Regions from separate parts of the Homo sapiens genome. Here region 1 is linked to region 2. Evidence: promoter capture Hi-C in human tissues and cell types (Jung and others, 2019). All regions are on one chromosome and are shown on one strand. Each heading gives the region's core, a stretch centred on a gene start or on the middle of the fragment in contact. The rest is flanking DNA. Distances are from core to core; before and after follow the strand shown.

What was found. Contacts are between HindIII fragments. The study calls those that stand out against the background at their distance.
Region 1: a contact is called between a fragment that was not itself captured here and the fragment with the promoter of SLC35G3 in region 2, in 1 of the 25 tissues and cell types used here (dorsolateral prefrontal cortex).

The regions. Positions count from the first base shown.
Region 1 is chr17:33,764,135-33,767,126 of GRCh38, forward strand. It overlaps a transcript of ASIC2 not described here. Among named protein-coding and RNA genes, the nearest start is that of ASIC2-AS1, 210 kb to the left of the region's middle. The HindIII fragment of the contact is 5,700 bases long and covers 1-2,992 here.
Region 2 is chr17:35,193,016-35,195,954 of GRCh38, forward strand. It overlaps SLC35G3 (solute carrier family 35 member G3), which reads right to left and starts at 1,378. Exons shown (of 1, transcript NM_152462.2): 1 at 1-1,378. The coding sequence starts at 1,292. The coding sequence ends at 276. The HindIII fragment of the contact is 5,493 bases long and covers 1-2,939 here.

The DNA.
Region 1 (2,992 bases), core at 333-2,832, 1.4 Mb before region 2:
ACAAAACAAAACAAAACAACAAAAAAACAAAATTTAGCCAGGCATGGTGGCGGGCACCTGTAGTCCCAGCTACTTGGGAGGCTGAGGAAGGAGAATGGTGTGAACTCAGGAGGCGGAGCTTGCAGTGAGCCCAGATCGCGCCACTGCACTCCAGCCTGGGCGAGAAAACAAGACTCTGTCTAAAAAAAAAAAAAAAAAGGCTTTGATTTCAGAATGAGAATGTACTGTCCTGGAGCAGCCAGCATTCACTGAGCCTTAGTGGGTGTGTTAGTCTATATTCTCCTGCTTATAACAGAATACCTGAAACTGGATAATTAATAAAGAAAAAGAATTTGTTTCTTACAGCTGTGGAGGCTGGGAGGTTTAAGGTCAAGGGAGTACATCTGGTGGGAACTTTCTTGCTGATGAGGACTCTGTAGAGTCTCAAGGCAGCATGGGGCATCACATGGCGAGGGGTCTGAGTGCACTAACTTGCTAGCTCAGGTCTCTTTTCCTCTTCTTATAAAGCCACCAATTCCTCCTCCATGATAACCTATTCATCCTTTAATTCATGAATGGATGAGTTCATTCTTGAGGGTACAGCCCTTATGGTCCAATCACATGTTAAAGGCCCCATCTGTCAATACTGCCACACTGGGGGTAAGTTTCTACATGAACTTTGGAGGGGACATTCGCACAATAGCAATGGGTATGTAAGATGGAAACCAAGCCCCTTGTGCCCTTTGATACATTCACGTGCCTGACTTTTCCTCTTTCCATCTTCCTGATTGTTACTTTCTCTCTTCTGCTCATGGACCATCAGCCTGGGCGTATGCTGATGCTGACCTGTAAAACTGCTGCCTATCTAGCCATCATCATCCAGCACCCGTGTCAGCACCCTTGCTCTTCTCCTAGATAGTCTTTCTGGAGGGGAAAAAGCAGCAGTCAAAACTAACTGTGATGGTGACAGTGGAACTTGATGGAGCATAATTGTTTTTTGTTTTTTTTTTGAGACGGAGTCTCGCTCTGTCGCCCAGGCTAGAGTGCAGTGGCGCTATCTTGGCTCACTGCAAGCTCCGCCTCCCGGGTTCACGCCATTCTCCTGCCTCAACCTCCCGAGTAGCTGGGACTACAGGCGCCCGCTACCACGCCCAGCTAATTTTTTTTTGTATTTTTAGTAGAGACGGGGTTTCACCGTATTAGCCAGGATGGTCTCGACCTCCTGACCTCGTGATCCACCCGCCTCGGCCTCCCAAAGTGCTGGGATTACAGGCGTGAGCCACCGCGCCCGGCGATGGAGCATAATTGTAAAATAACTTTCTTTTCCCCTCTCAGGAATATCTGACAAACCAACCTTATCAACCCTTCCTACCCACCCAAAGATGTTGTCTCAGGCAGGTTCCTCAATTTCCTGTCACTTTCAGGAAATGAAAAGTTCTTAGGTCACTGCTGGTTTCAAAATAGTATGATTTCAGTGATACAATGTCCAGTCTTCTGCAGTTCTTAAAAAATCTGAACTCTAAGTTTCTTGCCATTTCCCCTGGAATCTTGGAGTGGAACACAGCTATGCAATTGAGTTCTTGAGAGCAAGTTTTTGGAGAACAGATGGGGGACATGGATGTTCTGTTTGACTGGTGCTATCATGATTTGACTCTGGAGTCAGATGGGGTTAGAGGATATTCCAAGATGGGATTCTTCCTTTAGGCACATTCGTGAGGTCTTTGGCGTCCCTTCCCGTGGGCTCCGCTGTACCGCACAGCCCCAGATGTGGGCAATGTATTCCCCATGCAGTATCTTATGACCTTTCCACCTTGACTCCTATTACAAGCAGAGCTGCTTGGGAAGGGGTCTCCCTGCTCTAGTAGGCCACCCTCTCTTGGCAGGGACCCTTAGGAGTGGTTCTTTGTCTTGCCATTGCAGGTGGCTTAGCATATAATGGTCCCTCTTTATTGGAGGTTTTGCTTTCTATGGTTTTGGTTACCCACGGTCAACCACAGTCCAAAAACAGGTGAGTATGGTACAATGAGATATTTTGAGAGAGAGAGAGGCCACATTTACATAACATTTATTGCAGTATATTGTTATAGTTGTTCTGTTTTATTATTAATTGTTAATCTCTTACTGTGCCTAATTTATGAGTTAAACTTTATCATAGGTATGTATAGGAGTAAACAGTGTATTTAGGGTTTGGTAGTATCATTGGCTTCAAGCAGCTGCTGAGGCTTTTGGAATGTATCCCCTACAGATATAGAGGGACTGCTGTACTCAAAGAGAAGCAGATCACACTCTCCAAGTGGTTTCCTTGAAGCCTCTCTGCTAGGCTTGAGGTAGAGGCAGTGGCACCAGATAACACCTCCATATAATCCAGGAACAATGGGCTTCAAAGCACTCTTCTCCCTCAGACTTCTCAACCTCCATGTTCTGTGCCTCACCAGGGTGTTGAGCTAGGGCTGAGCTTGTTTTTGGTGGCTTCTTTCACATATCTGCATGTGTAATGTAGCATCCTAAATGTGGGATTATTATTATTATTATTTACCTATTGTTTAGCTCTCACTTTGACTGAGGAGATGATTCTTAGCCAAATCAGAAGAAAAATAACAGTTAAAATGAAGCTGTATGCTGAGAGTTAAACTCTGTGCTATTTGATCTGTGGTGAAAAGGGTAAAAAAAGAAAAATCACAGCTGTTTTGGTTTATTCCTGTGCTATTTCCTGTGTTTATTCCAAAAGCCCATTCCTCTCAACTACCATTGCCTCATTTACTTTTATTTGTCAGTGGATTTTGATGGCGATAAACTCTAATACAGATATAAGCATTGTCAAAGACAGACAAAAATATGTGGCAGCCCAGCCGGCTTTGCTTATGATAATTTTTGACCATCATTAAATAAAAGAAACCACACTGCTATTTGCCCTGGACCAGGCTGCACAGAGTTTTCCATTTGTAAAGCATCTTGGTAGCAGATCAGTGTGTGCGATTCAGTGCATCTGCTCTGCTGACCTTGGATTTGAGGC
Region 2 (2,939 bases), core at 128-2,627:
CTGCCTCAGCCCTTTGGATCTGCTCCTCAGACTTTACCCCTTAGTTATGCCCTGATTCTAGGACCCAGCCTGGACTCCACATCCCTTGGTCCCAGGCTGGCCCCAGGTCTTCCACGTAGTCCCTCTCCACCAAGTCCCCAAGTCACCCTTGACTCTGAGAGGTATCCCTCTCCCACACCAGTTCTTTTCCAGTCACTTCTCCTCCCATGTTTGTCTTCAGTCTTTGCCTTTATTTATCCCTGTCCCTCCCAACCCCCGGGCTCCCAAGTTCTATCTCACTCCTCCACCCTCCCTGTCCTCTCACAGCTGAGGTTCTGGGCTGTAATGATGGCAATGCTGCCCAGCACAACCCCTGCCGCCACGATGTCAGAAGGTGCCACAGTCTCATGGAGCATATAATACTGCAGTATAAGGGCCACAACCACCTCGGAATGTAGGACAGCGCACACCAGGGCAGGGTGGGCCTTGGTGACCGCATAGCCCACACATGTGAAGGAGACCAAGGCGAGGATCCCCACTGCCCCCACACAACTCCAACTCAGGAGGTCACTGGGCAACACGGGGGCCTGCAGCACAAAGAGGCCTGGCACAGAGCCCAGCAGCCCCACCAAGCCAGATAGGAAGGCCACTGTTGGGAGGCAGGGGGGAAAGTGCAGAGAACGATAGACCAGAAGCCTCAGGGACAGCGCCAGGCCTCCCAGGAAAGCCTCCACATAGCCCAGGGCGGTGTAGACACCCGTGGTCCCCTCCTGTAGTGTCCAGAGTCCAGGTCCCACAATGATGATTAGTCCTAGGATGCAGCCCAACAGTCCACACCAGTCGTAGCCACTGAGACCCTGGCTCTCAAGGCAGAGAGTGAGGACGGCGGAGCAGACGGTGGAAGAACCTTTGCGAACAGTGGCAGCGTTGCCAGCGGGCACCACCTGAACCGCACTGTAGGCACATCCAATGCTGAGGATGTTGAGCAGGGCACAGAAGAAGGCCCGGCTTCGGATGTCAGGAGTTCCCAGAAGGGGGTCGCCACGCAGTTTAAGTAGCAGGGCAATAGGGAGGTGGAAGAGGCATCGCCAGATGAGCAGCTCCAGCGAGGGCAGGTTGGAAGCCTGGTAAGCCATACGAGAAAGGGGGCCCACGAAGCCAGCAGGCAGGCCCCCACCCAGCAGGGCCACCAGCAGGCCACTGGTGGCATCAGAGGGCTGGCAGCGCTGGTACCAGCGGAGGCTGGGTGGAGCGGAGGGCGGCGATGGGTGTGTGGAGTCAGGCTGGTTGAAATAGGGGTGACTGCCAGCCATCTTTCCTTGGACTTTCTCCTCTCCTCCTGGCTCAGGGAGCCTGGGCCCCTCAGAGCTCCAGCCATTGTGACCTCATTGGAGTGGGGGTGGGATTCTTCCCTGGAACTCTCCTGAGGTGGTAGCACGCCTATTTTCCCACTGAGTCCAACTCTGCTTCTTTTCTTTCTTTTTTTGTTTTTTGTTTTTTTTTATTGATCATTCTTGGGTGTTTCTCGCAGAGGGGGATTTGGCAGGGTCATAGGACAATAGTGGAGGGAAGGTCAGCAGATAAACAAGTGAACAAAGGTCTCTGGTTTTCCTAGGCAGAGGACCCTGCGGCCTTCTGCAGTGTTTGTGTCCCTGGGTACTTGAGATTAGGGAGTGGTGATGACTCTTAACGAGCATGCTGCCTTCAAGCATCTGTTTAACAAAGCACATCTTGCACCGCCCTTAATCCATTTAACCCTGAGTGGACACAGCACATGCCCCAGAGAGCACAGGGCTGGGGGCAAGGTCACAGATCAACAGCATCCCAAGGCAGAAGAACCCTTCCCAGTACAGAACAAAATGAAGTCTCCCATGTCTACTTCTTTCTACACAGACACAGCAACAATCTGATTTCTCTATCTTTTCCCCACCTTTCCCCCTTTTCTATTCCACAAAACCACCACCGTCATCATGGCCCGTTCTCAATGAGCTGTTGGGTACACCTCCCAGACGGGGTGGTGGCCGGGCAGAGGGGCTCCTCACTTCCCAGAAGGGGCGGCCGGGCAGCGGTGCCCCCCACCTCCCGGACGGGGCAGCGGCCGGGCGGGGGCTGACCCCCCACCTCCCTCCCAGACGGGGCAGCTTGCCCGGCGGGGGCTGCCCCCCACCTCCCTCCTGGACGGGGCGGCTGCCGGGCAGAGAAGCTCCTCACTTCCCAGACGGGGCGGCTGCCGGGTGGAGGGGCTCCTCACTTCTCAGACGGGGCGGCTGCCGGGCGGAGGGGCTCCTCACTTCTCAGATGGGGCAGCTGCGGGGCGGAGGGGCTCCTCACTTCTCAGATGGGGCGGCCGGGCAGAGACGCTCCTCACCTCCCAGATGGGGTCGCGGCCAGGCAGAGGCGCTCCCCACATCTCAGACGATGGGCCCCCGGGCAGAGACGCTCCTCACTTCCTAGACGGGATGGCGGCCGGGAAGAGGCGCTCCTCACTTCCTAGATGGGATGGCGGCCGGGAAGAGGCGCTCCTCACTTCCCAGACTGGGCAGCCGGGCAGAGGGGCTCCTCACATCCCAGACAATGGGCGGCCAGGCGGAGACGCTCCTCACTTCCCAGGCGGGGTGGCGGCTGGGCAGAGGCTGCAATCTCGGCACTTTGGGAGGCCAAGGCAGGCGGCTGGGAGGTGGAGGTTGTAGCTAGCCGAGATCACGCCACTGCTCTCCAGCCTGGGCAACATTGAGCACTGAGTGAATGAGACTCCGTCTGCAATCCCGGCACCTCGGGAGGCCGAGGTTGGCAGATCACTCGTGGTTAGGAGCTGGAGACCAGCCTGGCCAACACAGCGAAACCCCGTCTCCACCAAAAAAATACGAAAACCAGTCAGGCGTGGCGGTGCGCACCTGCAATCGCAGGCTGAGGCAGGAGAATCAGGCAGGGAGGTTGCAGTGAGCCGAGATGGCAGCAGT